Linked DNA regions of Homo sapiens: regions 2 and 3 are each linked to region 1. Evidence: promoter capture Hi-C in human tissues and cell types (Jung and others, 2019). All regions are on one chromosome and are shown on one strand. Each heading gives the region's core, a stretch centred on a gene start or on the middle of the fragment in contact. The rest is flanking DNA. Distances are from core to core; before and after follow the strand shown.

Evidence for each region. The method cuts DNA at HindIII sites, captures the fragments that hold promoters and counts their contacts. A contact is called where the count stands out against the background at its distance.
Region 2: a contact is called between the fragment with the promoter of IFNL1 here and the fragment with the promoter of RASGRP4 in region 1, in 2 of the 25 tissues and cell types used here (adrenal gland and dorsolateral prefrontal cortex).
Region 3: a contact is called between the fragment with the promoter of FBXO27 here and the fragment with the promoter of RASGRP4 in region 1, in 5 of the 25 tissues and cell types used here (IMR-90 fibroblasts, lymphoblastoid cells, mesenchymal stem cells and 2 more).

What each region holds. Positions count from the first base shown.
Region 1 is chr19:38,424,376-38,428,483 of GRCh38, forward strand. It overlaps RASGRP4 (RAS guanyl releasing protein 4), which reads right to left and starts at 1,844. Exons shown (of 17, transcript NM_170604.3): 1 at 1,694-1,844. The coding sequence starts at 1,716. RefSeq lists a silencer at 1,720-1,779 and an enhancer at 2,672-3,186. The HindIII fragment of the contact is 24,204 bases long and covers 1-4,108 here.
Region 2 is chr19:39,293,994-39,298,101 of GRCh38, forward strand. It overlaps IFNL1 (interferon lambda 1), which reads left to right and starts at 2,414. Exons shown (of 5, transcript NM_172140.2): 1 at 2,414-2,599; 2 at 2,812-2,889; 3 at 3,971-4,108. The coding sequence starts at 2,429. The HindIII fragment of the contact is 11,779 bases long and covers 1,311-4,108 here.
Region 3 is chr19:39,030,818-39,034,925 of GRCh38, forward strand. FBXO27 (F-box protein 27) reads right to left here and starts at 1,732. Exons shown (of 6, transcript NM_178820.5): 1 at 1,686-1,732; 2 at 1,047-1,436; 3 at 392-503; 4 at 212-307. The coding sequence starts at 1,410. RefSeq lists enhancers at 311-420, 827-1,619 and silencers at 529-711, 561-800, 951-1,030, 1,231-1,380, 1,441-1,510. The HindIII fragment of the contact is 13,585 bases long and covers 248-4,108 here.

The DNA.
Region 1 (4,108 bases), core at 594-3,093:
TCTGAAAGTGCTGGGATTACAGGTGTGAGCCATCACGCCAGGCTCCCACCTCTACCCTTTTTCAGACAGGGTCTTGCTCTGTCTCCCAGGCTGGAGCACAGTTGTGCAATCAAAGCTCATTGTAACCTTGAACTCCTGGACTCGAGTGATCCTCCTGCCTTAGTCTCCCAGGTAGCTGGGACTACAGGTGTGCACGACCATACCCAGCTAATTTTGTGTGTGTGTTTGGGTGTGTGTCAATGGGGGGGGGGGTCTCACTATATTTCTCAGGCTGGTCTAGAACTCCTGGCTTCAAGTTCTCCTTGTCTTATCCTCCCAAAGTGCTGGGATTAGAGGCATGAGCCATCGTTACTAGAAGGGACATTTTAAAGTATTATATATGTCCTAGGCTAAGGAAGGAGCATTCTAACTAAGTCAGCATTTCCCTAAGTGTGGGCACCCAGCTAGTACCAAAAGCATCACCTGGGAACTGGATATCAATACAGATTCTCAGGTCCCAACCCAGACCTACAAAATCAAACACTTTAAGGCTAAGGGTGGTGGCTCATGCCTCTAATCCCAGCACTTTGGGAGGCCGAGGTGGGTGGATCACGAGGTCAAGAGATCGAGACCATCCTGCCCAACATGGTGAAACCCCATCTCTACTAAAAATACAAAAAAGTAGCTGGGTGTGGTGGTGCACACCTGTAGTCCCAGCTACTTGGGAGGCTGAGGCAGGATGATCGCTTGAACCCGGGAGGCAGAGGTTGCAGTGAGCCAAGATTGTGCCACTGCACTCCAGCCTGGCGGCAGAGCGAGACTCCGTCTCAAAAAAAAAAAACAAAAAAAAAAAAACCAAACACTTTAAAGGTAAGCCCAGCAACCTGTATTTTACAAGCCCTCCAGACAGTTCTGAGGCTCGCTCCAGTTTGAGAACCACTGGTCTAGAGTGTCTCATTGAGTACTTACAGGCCTCTCCGAGGTAGAGGATATGATTGTTCTACTGACAGAAGAAAAACCCGAGACACAGAGCAGTTAAGTGACTTACCTAAGGTCACACAGCTAGGAAATTAGGCAGCCAGGAGTCTACCACTAAACTGCTGGGTGGGGAGGAAAGCCCTTTGCCCATCAGAGTGGTGCTGGGGGTGGCAGGAGGAGTTACCCAGGCTAGGGAGCCACCCACCATCTGCCTCTGTGGGGACAGAAGGGCCAGCTTGCCCAGGAGATGAAGCCCATTCCAGAACCGGCCGCACAGCCAGCCACTAGGCCCTGTCCTGCAGCCCCCTGTAGGGGTCTGGAACAGCCAGGAGTGGTTTAAGAGGCAGGGGAGTCGCCTTGCCCTGTGCCACACTCCCCTCTCCTGGGCCAGGCCCTGCAGGAGCCTGGAGTTTCCAGTCCACGGGGATGGGGAACCAGGAAGCCCCCAGGGAGGGCAGAGACACTCAGCCCAGGCCAGGGATGGAGGTGGGGTGATGAGGAGTGGAAAAGGGGCACGGAGCAGCTCAAACTCCAGGGACAACACGGTACAGATGCCACATACAAGCGACTGCAGCCGTAGCTGGCTCCAGACTCCCTGAAGCATCCACCTGGCCCCCCTGCGCCTGATCCCAAAGAAGTCAGGAATCCTGCCACCCTGGCGAGTGATCTCCCCAGCCCTCCCATGCAGAGGGAGGCCTCAGGGTGCTGCCGGGCTCCCTGGGGAGGGTCCTCTCACCTCTTACTGTCTTTTCTGTTCATGCTTCCCGCGTGGGGTGAGGAGGCCGGGGGTCTTGCAAGAGTAGGGCTCAGCTCCTCCCCTTGCCCAGGACTCCAGCTTCTCAGCCCCTAGGGAGCTGGGGCCTCCTCGGTGCTTGGGAAGGAAAGAGGAACTGCCCCTCCCCACCCACCCTCAGGCCAGGGGGAAGGAAGAGGCTGGGGAGAGACCGAAGGCCCCCCTCCCCCACACGGGGATCCCTTCTGCTGAGGTTTCCGGCATCGCTGGCTCTCCCACCCTCAAGCTCCCCGGCGGGCTCTCTATCTCCCCCATCTTTCGGTGTCGAGACCCGTCACTGTCATACTTCAATAAAAGAAGGGGCTTTTCTTTTTAAAGCATGACTGATATTTATGTAAAAACACACACACTCACTCAAAAAGATAAGTCTGTCTGTCTAGAAGGACATATTCATATATATAATTCATGAAGGTTTGAATGGAAACTCACAAGACATAGTATTTTGTATATTTCTTCATAGGCGTCTCTTATTCCTAGTTTAAGTGATACCATTTGTACCCTGGAAAACATTTTCACTTTCTGACTTTATTGTAACAAACCTCCACATAGCACCTACTGTGTACCACACACTGCTGTAAGGACTTTAAAAATATTAACTCATTTAATCCTCACACAATCCACTGTTACCTTAAAAAAAATTACATACCGGACCAGGCACGGGGGCTCACAGGGGCTCACGCCTGTCATCCAGCACTTTGGGAGGCCAAGGCAGGCGGATCGCTTGAGTCTAAGAGTTTGAGACCAGCTTGAACAACGTGACAAAACCCCGTCTCTACAAAAAATGTAAAACGTTAGGCCGGTGTGGTGGCTCACTCCTGCAATCCCAGCACTTTGGGAGGCCGAGGTGGGCGGATCACCTGAGGTTGGGAGTTTAAGACCAGCCTGAGCAACATGGAGAAACCCCGTCTCTACTAAAAATACAAAATTAGCCAGGCGTTGTGGCACATGCCTGTAATCCCAGCTACTCGGCAGGCTGAGGCAGGAGAATTGCTTGAACCCAGGAGGCGGAGGTTGCCGTGAGCCGAGATCGCGCCATTGCACTCCAGCCTGGGCAACAGGAGCGAAACTCTGTCTCAAAAAAAAAAAGTTAGCTGAGCGTAGTGATGCACACTTGTAGTCCCAGCTACTCAGGAGGCTGAGGCTAGAAGATTGCTTGAGCCCAAGGAGGTCGAGGCTGCAGTGAACCATGATGGTGCCACTGCACTTCAGTCTGCGTGGCAGAGCCAGACCCTGTCTCAAAAAACAAAAAACAAAAAAAAAAAACACACACACACATCAAAAAACATTAGAGATGGAGGTAAAGCCTTGGGGAAGCCCCTCCCCATCCCCTGCCTTTCTTAAGCAGGGTGTGACCAATATGACACGTTGTCGAGTTTCGTCCAAACTGCTGTCTGTGCGTTTAAGCACATCATATAAACATGTGCTCCTAGAAACAGACTTTTCTTTTGAGTGTGCATTTTTTTCTTTTTACCTAAATGTGTCATGCTCGACACTTTTTTTTAAATTGAAGTACAAAAAAGATCACGAATCATTAAGTATTTAGGTTGATGAAATGTCACCAACTGAGCAAACCTGTGTGACATTCATACAAATCCAGACACAGAACATTCTCACCCTCCACAAGCCCCCTGTCTTTCTTCCCAGCACGAATTCCCACAGATCCCCACTCGCCCGAAGTCTGGCGCAGTAGTTTTGTCTTGTTTTGAGCTGGATAAAAATGGACTCCTGTATTGAATCTGGGTTCTTTCTCTCCACGTCTTGTCTTTGCAGTTCTTCCATGTTATCATATTTGGTTATAATTTATTCCTTTTTTTGGCCGGGCGCGGTGGCTCACGCCTGTAATCCCAGCACTTTGGGAGGCTGAGATGGGCAGATCACTTGAGGTCAGGAGTTCGAGACCCGTCTGGCCAACATGGTGAAACTCCCATCTCTACTACAAATACAAAAATGAGCCAGGTGTGGTGGTGCGTGCCTGTAATCCCAGCTACTTGGGAGGCTGAGGCAGGAGAATCGCTTGAACCCGGGAGGAGGAGGTTGTAGCGAGCCGAGATTGCACCACTGCACTTCAGCTTGGGCGACAGAGCGAGACTCTGTCTCAAAATAATAATAATAATAATAATAATAATAATTCCATATAGTCTTTCATTATGTGACAATTCCATGACTTATATATATATATTTATTTATTTAGAGATAGGTGTTGTGGATAGTGACTAAGCGGGCTGGTGGCATGCTAACTTCTATTTTTTTTTTTTATTTTTGAGACAGAGTCCTGCTCTGTCGCCCAGTCTGGAGTGCAGTGGCGTGATCTCAGCTCACTGCAACCTCTGCGATTGAAGCGATTCTCCTGCCTCAGCC
Region 2 (4,108 bases), core at 1,164-3,663, 870 kb after region 1:
TTATGATCTGAAGAGTATGATTAATAACTTTCTGCACCAAAGGGCTAAGAAAAAAAATAAAGGAGTGAAAATAGGAAATGTCTGCACATCAGAGCAGTTTCTTACCTGCTACACAATTACTATTACTGCAGGGATGATGATAGCAAGGCAACCAGACTCACCGCCTGCCTTCTCTCCAGGCAGCCCCTCCAGTCCCCAGGAAATGCGCTTGCCCCCAGCGAATAAGGAGTTCCCTACCCCTCTCATGCTACCCAGAGGGACAGAAAGGAGAAGTGGGCCTGCTACCCCCAGAGGTTCTCATCTTCTACCTGGGCTGCATATGGAATAGGGAGCAAGTACATAGGACTCATCATACCCCATTTCTGCCTCTATCCCACTGTGGGACCTTAGGCAAGTCACTTTGCCTTCCTATGCCTCAGTTATCTCACTAGTAAAATGGGCATGATTATTGTATTAGTCAGGGTTCTCCAGAGAGACAGAACAAATAGGATGTTTGGATAAATAGATGATAGATAGAGAGATATAGACTAGATAGATGAGAGAGATAGACTAGATAGAGAGAGAGAGAGAGAGAGAGAGAGAGAGAGACTAGATAGATGAGAGAGAGATAGGAGGGGATTTATTAGGGGAATTGGCTCAGACAATTAGGGAGGCTAAGAAGTTCCACAACAGGCCATCTGCAAGCTGGAGAACCAGGGAAGCTTGTAGTGCAGCTCAGTTCCAGAATAAAAGCCTCAGGACTTAGGGGGTAGCTAGTGCAAGTCCCAGCATTTTTTTTTTTTCTGAGATGGAGTCTCACTCTGTTGACCAGGCTGGAGTGCAGTGACATGATCTCAGCTCACTGCAGCCTCCGCCTCCAGGGTTCAAGCGATACTCCTGCCTCAGCCTCCCAAGTAGCTGGGACTACAGGCCTGTGCCACCACGCCTGGCTGATTTTTATATTTTTAGTAGAGATGGGGTTTCACCATGTTGGCCAGGCTGGTCTCGAACTCCTGACCTCAAGTGATTCACCTGCCTCAGCCTCCCAAACTGCTGGGATTACAGGCGTGAGCCACCATGCCCAGCTGCACATCCCAGCATTCAAAGACCAAAGAGCCTGGAGTTCTGATGTTTAAGGGCAGGTGCAGGGTGTCCCAGCTCATAAGAGAGAGCAAATTCTCCTTTCCTCTGCCTTTTTGTTCTATTCAGGCCCTCGGCCAATTGGATGGTGCCCACCACATTGGGTAACAACGGGTCTTCCTTACTCAGTCCATTGATTCAAATGCCAATCTCTTCTGGAAACACCCCAGAGTCATACCCAGAATTAACGCATCACCAGCTATCTGATAAACTTAACCAGTCAAGGTGACACCTAAAATTAACCATCACAATTATAAAAATAACTACTCAGAGAAACATTAGGAGCATGAACTGAAATTAGTTAATGGGACATTCTTAAACCAATGGCAGAAGCTCCTTCTTGGCCAGGAGCAGTGGCTCATGCCTTTAATACTAGCACTTTGCGAGGCTGAAGCAGGAGGATGGCTTAAGGCCAGGAGTTCAAGACTGGCCTGGGCAACATAGTGAGACCCCTATCTCTACAAAAATAAATAAATAAATAATAAAGTAAGGTGGTGGCTCACGCCTGTAATCCCAGCACTTTGGGAGGCCAAGGCAGGCAGATCATCTGAAGTCAGGAGTTCGAAGCCAGCGTGACCAACATAGTAAAACCCAGTCTCTACTAAAAATACAAAAACTAGCCAGGCGTGATGGCATGCACCTGTAATCCCAACTACTTAGGAGGCTGAGGCAGGAGAATCGCTTCAACTCGGGAGGCAGAAGTTGCAGTGAGCCAAGATTGCACCATTGCACTCCAGCCTGGGCAACAAGAGCAAAACTACGTCTCAAAAAATAATAATAACAATAAAATAAAAAACAAGCTTTTTTTTTTTTGAAACAGGATCTCACTCCATCACCCAGGCTGGAGTGCAGTGGCACGATCTTGGCTCACTGCAACCTCCGCCTCCCGGGTTCAAGTGATTCTCATGCCTCGGCCTCCTGAGTAGCTGAGACCACAGGCGCATGCCACCACACCTGGCTAATTTAGAATAAAAAAGAAGCTTCCTCTCTGCCACTCAGGTAGCCTTATCCCTAATCTCAGCCTCCGTCAGGGACTCCCTGAGGCCAGTTGGCTGAAAGCTGCCCAGGGAGTTCTAAGGATTTCAGTTTCTCTTTCCTTCTTGATGCAGCTCCCAGCTCACTTGGCCCTGCCCACACCTGTTCCCTCATCAGGCTCCCAGACGGGCCCCGCCCACTCATGCCTCTTAAGTCAAAGTGGAAATTCTCATTTCCAATTACCTTTTCACTTTACACACATCATCTTGGATTGCCCATTTTGCGTGGCTAAAAAGCAGAGCCATGCCGCTGGGGAAGCAGTTGCGATTTAGCCATGGCTGCAGCTTGGACCGTGGTGCTGGTGACTTTGGTGCTAGGCTTGGCCGTGGCAGGCCCTGTCCCCACTTCCAAGCCCACCACAACTGGGAAGGGCTGCCACATTGGCAGGTTCAAATCTCTGTCACCACAGGAGCTAGCGAGCTTCAAGAAGGCCAGGGACGCCTTGGTGAGTTCCTGTTGCTGTGGATGAACCACTTCTACGGGTGTCCCAATTACTGCCCTTCTACTGTGGGCTAGCCTCTAGCCTTCCAACTATGGCAAACCTCTATCCTTTCTGCACTGGGTTAAACCCATGCTGTCAGGCCAACTTCATCCTTGCTGCTATGAGCTAGCTTCCAGCCATCCTGCTGTGGGCTAACCCCTGCCCTTGCTCTCTAGGAAGAGTCACTCAAGCTGAAAAACTGGAGTTGCAGCTCTCCTGTCTTCCCCGGGAATTGGGACCTGAGGCTTCTCCAGGTGAGCTGAAAGTCAGGCCCCCTTCACCCTTCCCTTGACCCTCTCCCCCCTCTTCTTAAGTGGCCCCTTAGCCTTCTTTGTTTCCCTTGTCCTTCACTCTCTTGGACCTCTCCTCACCTGTCCTGTGCCCCTGCCACTTCAAAACTGCTCTCTTGACTCTGTCCTTCCCCTGGGTCCCTTTTATCATCTCCCATCGGCCCCACTTCCCTAGCTCGCTCACCTGTCCCTGTCACTTCCACTCTCACTCTTCATTTCTCTCCCAAATGTCTCCAGTCTGTCGCCCACCTGTGCCTTTCGTCCTGCTCCACTTCTCCCTGTCTGTTCCCAACACTGACCCCCTCTCCCTCTCACCTGCCTCTGTCACCTGTCCCTCATTATCTCTCACTGACATTCATCCAGCTCATGCTCCCCCCTCATCCACCCTTCTCTTTTTTTTTTTTTTTTTTTTTTTTTTGAGACAGAGTCTTGCTCTATGGCCCAGGCTGGAGTGCAGTGGCATGATCTCGGTTCACTGCAACCTCTGCCTCCCGGGTTCAAGCAATTATCCTGCCTCAGCCTCCCGAGTAGCTGGGATTACAGGCATGTGCCATGATGCCCAGCTAATTTTTGTATTTTTAGCAGAGACGGGGTTTCACTATGTTGGCCAGGCTTGGTCTCGAAATCCTGACCTCAGGTGATCCACCCGCCTCGGCCTCCCAAAGTGCTGGGATTACAGGCGTGAGCCACCACACCCAGCCCTACCCTTCTTCTCTGTGCATGCAACTGTCCCTCTCTTACTGTGCCCCCAACCTGCTTTCTCCTCACCCGTCCCCACCCCGCCCCAGAGAACTTCTGTGACCCCCGTAAGTCCCCTTTCATTTGTCTCCATTTCACTTATCCCCTCACCTGCCTCCTTGACCATCCTGCCTCACCTGTATCCTTCCTCATGTCTTCCCCCTCCTGTCTCCTTCTCCCCAGACCCCTCACCTGTCCCCACCACATGCACTGTGTCACCGACCTTCCCCAGGACTGCCTACCTGTCCCCACTAACTGGGTCTTCTTGCCTGTTCTCCCTCACCTGCTCTTTCTCACCTCTCCTCAGGTGAGGGAGCGCCCTGTGGCCTTGGAGGCTGAGCTGGCCCTGACGCTGAAGGTCCTGGAGGCCGCTGCTGGCCCAGCCCTGGAGGACGTCCTAGACCAGCCCCTTCACACCCTGCACCACATCCTCTCCCAGCTCCAG
Region 3 (4,108 bases), core at 482-2,981, 610 kb after region 1:
GGCTGGTCTCGAACTCCTGACCTCAAGTGATCTGCCTGCCTCGACCCCCCAAAGTGCTGGGATTATAGGTGTGAGCCACCATGGCTGGCCTGAACTTCAGATTTTTTATCTGTAAGGAGGGGTTAGGAGGCCTAAATTAAGTCACCCATAAAAAGGCCATGTCACATGCAGTCAGTGCTTAGCAAGGGGCTATTTTAATCGTCACACTCACCAGTCAGAGACACAAATCTCAATCCTGCCACTATCCAGCAGTTCTGGCCACAGACCCTCCTCCTCTAGGTCCAAGACCTGCTTCTTGCAACACCAGCTGGGAATGCAGGAGACAGGGTAATGAGAACAGGCAGGCCTTTCTCAACAAGGGGCCGGACCTTTGGATAGCAGGGGCATTCACCTGAATGAAGTCACGAAGCACGTCTGAGAAGGGGCCCCAGGCACGGTTGTCCTGTTTTCCTCCACCACCCAGCCGTCCCCACCGTGTTGCACCATCCACTTTCGGAGGCCTTCTGTGAAATAAAAAAGGCTTGTGCCCAAGTTCCAGTCGCCCGCCTGTTGGTTCCTAGTGAGACCCCGCCCCTAGCCCCTCCCACGTGCTCACAGTGCAGCTCACTCACCTGACCCTTCCCACCGAGGCCCCGCCCCCTTCCCCTCCCACCAGCTCAGGGCAAAGCCCCGCTCCTCTGGCCCTTCTCACTGATTTGCAGCAAAGCCCTGCCCCTCCAACCCCTCTCTCGGGCTCCCAGAACTGCCCCACTCCCACCCCTCCCACAGGCAAACGGTGAAGCCCTGCCCAGTCAGCCCTGCACCCTGCGTGCCAATGCTGCCTCGTCCCTCCGACACCTCCCACCGGCTCCCAATGCTGCCCCGCCCCTCCGGCACCTCACACCGGCTCCCAATGCTGCCCCGCCTCTCCGACTCCTCCCACCGGTCCCACTGCGGCCCTGCCCCTGCGGCCCCTAGTACCGGTCCCAGTGCGGCCCCGCCCCTCCGGCCCCGCTACCGCTCCCACTGTGGCCCAGCATCCTGGACTTCCTCTTCCGAGATCCCACCTTGGCCGCAGGGGTTGCGAATAAGGTTGCGTCCGATGGGTCTGCGCGCGCAGAAGCGGCCCAGGGGGCAAGGCCTGGCGTTACGGGCGGGAGACTGGCAGCTGCGGGCGAGGTGCAGCAGCGCGCGGCCGGTGGCGCCGTGGTCGCGGGCCAGGATCAGCAGCCACAGGGCCTGGCCGTCCACCAGGGCTCGCCAGCCCCGGCACACTTGGCGGCAGCGCCCGAGCAGCGTGCGCGGGGGGACGTGGCTCAGCACCACCAGAAGCAGCTCTGGGGGTAGTTGGCTCAGGTCCAGCGCCTCTTCGGGTTCCGGCTCCGGCGCGGGGACCCGGGCGGCCCGGCCCCTGGAGACCGAGGCGCCCATGGTCCCCCCGCCAGGCCCGGCTGTGGCTGCGGGAGAGGAAGGGTCAAGGCGTCAGGGACCAGCAGCCTCCGCGGCGCGCAGCCTCTGCCTGCCCTGATTCTGCCAGCCGCACCCCCGTCTTCACCATCCCTGGGCCCCGTCCCCAAGTCCCCATCCCCCAGCCCGTCCTTGATAGCCCCGATATCCCGGAGACCCCGCGGTCTGTGTGTATGCCCCGAATTGCATGCAATCAGCCCCCCTCGGCGGCCGCACCGACACCGCACCCCAAGTCCTACCCCGGGGCCTGGCGGCGCTCCTCGCCGGGATGCCCTAGCTGTGCCGCAAGCTCCCCACGCCCCTCTGCGTCCTTTTTACTCGCCGGCCCCTCCCCTCTTACTAGCCAGCTTCACCCACCCCTGCATCCTCTTTCTTACTCGCCAGCCCCTCCCGCCTGCTCCCTCCCGCTCTCCAAACCCAACCTGCTTCCCGCGACGGGGCCAGGTGCAGCCAGGAGCCAAGGCCTGCTGCTCACAGCCGTCCCCTCCAGCCGGCCCCTTGAAGTGTCCCTAATTCGTTAGTAGCAATGAGACGTCTGGCTCTGAGCAACCATTGTTATTTTGGTCAGGCTTCTGAGTGGGAGGCCTCGTATCCGTTAACGTGTTAAAAAATTTCCATCACCTTTAAGGTCGGGCGTGGTTATCTTCATTTCACAGGAGAAAACAGGCTCCGGCTGCTAAAAATTAATGCAACCAATAGTAACACCAGCCAACTTTTATGGACGGTTTTACTGCCAGCCAGGGTGGCAACCCCATGAAGTAGGTGCTGTTATGCCCTTTACTTCACAGGTGAAAAAACTGAGACCAGCAGAGGCCAAGTGGCTTGTCTATGATCACCAGCTAGTAGGGATTTGAATCCAGCCAGCCTAGCTCCGGAATTCCTCATTTTAACCTCTAGATCAGCTCTGTCCAATAAAAATACAATTGTGGCTGGGTGCGGTGACTCATGCCCGTAATCCCAGCACTTTGGGAGGCCAAGGCAGGCGGATCGCTTGAGGTCAGAAGTTCGAGACCAGCCTGGCCAACATGGTGAAACCCCGTCTCTACTAAAAATACAAAAATTAGCTGGGCGTGGTAGCACGCGCCTGTAATCCCAGCTAATTTGGAGGCTTAGGCAGGAGAATTGCTTGAATCCGGGAGGGGGAGGTTGCAGTGAGCAGAGATTGCACCACTGCACTCCAGCCTGTGCAAAAGAGTGAGTGAGACTCCGTCTCAAAAAACAAACAGAAAAAAAAAATTGTGAAAGTTGATCATGTGAATTGGATCCTTCTTGTCATATCCAACTAAAACAAAGTTGAGAGGCCGGGGGGAAAACACTTAGGGCAGATACCATTGCTCCAAGAAAGTGATTCTCTGCAAGCCTGGCTGTTAAAACTGCCTGTTGTAACCTGGAAGCAGTCTAACTGGTACTGAAAAAACCTGCCGTGACTCTAAGACTAGTTTTTCCCTCTGCTGTCACTTACCAGTCAGAACTTGCCAGCTCCCCAGAACGTTGCTAGTGTCAATGAACTTTCTTGCAAAACAATACCTAACATTTCTGTTTCTTATAAAAACCTCTAACCTCTTTGTTCTTTGAAAGTTCTGAAGACCGCCTGGTCTGTGTGGATGCCTCGAATGTCAATTCTTGCTTCCCAAATAAAACATTTTATTATTTTTTTGAGACAGAGTCTCGCTCTGTCGCCCAGGCTGGAGGGCAGTGATGCAATCTCGTCTCACTGCAACCTCCGCCTCATGGGTTCAAGCGATTCTCCTGCCTCAGCCTCCCGAGTAGCTGGGATTACAGGCGCATGCCACCATGCCCAGCTAATTTTTGTATTTTTAGTAGAGACGGGGTTTCACCATGTTGGCCAGGATGGTCTCAAACTCCCGACCTCAGGTGATCTGCCCGCCTCAGCCTCCCAAAGTGCTGGGATCGCAGGCATGAGCCACCGCAACAAAACATTTTAAATCGAGAGATTTGTCTCTATATCTCTATATTTTATTTGGCTTCGACATAACGTGAGCTGTATACATAGTTTAAGACATCAACAAACAAAACCAGACATGGATTCTTCCCCACAAAGAACTTACCTTCTAGAGGGAGAGACATGATAAACAGTTGGCATAATGAGCAAATTACGTAGTATCAGGGAAATAATTAAATATAAAACCTCCAGGCCGGGCATGATGGCTCACGCCTGTAATCCCAGAACTTTGGGAGGCTGAGGCAGGCGGATCACTTGAGGTCAGGAGTGTGAGACCAGCCTGGCCAAAATGGCGAAACTCCGTCTCTACTGAAAATACAAAAATTAGCCGGGCATGGTGGCGCATGCCTGTGATCCCAGCTACTCGGGAAGCTGAGGCATGAGAATCACTTCAACAAGGGAGGCAGAGGTTGCAGTGAGCTGAGACCTCACCACTGCACTCCAGCCTAGGCGACAGAGTGAGAAGCTGTCTTAAATAAATAAAATAAATAAAACCTCCTTTTGACCCTCTTAGAATCCTCTCCACAAATGCAGAAAAGAATTAAATGGGTCCTGGCATGGGGGCTCACACCTGTAATCCCAGCACTTTGGGAGGCCGAGGCAGGAGGATCTCTTGAGCCCAGGAGTTTGAGACCAGCGCTGGCAACACAGTGAAACCCCGTCTCTACAAAAAATTTAAAAAGTAGCTGCAAATAGTGG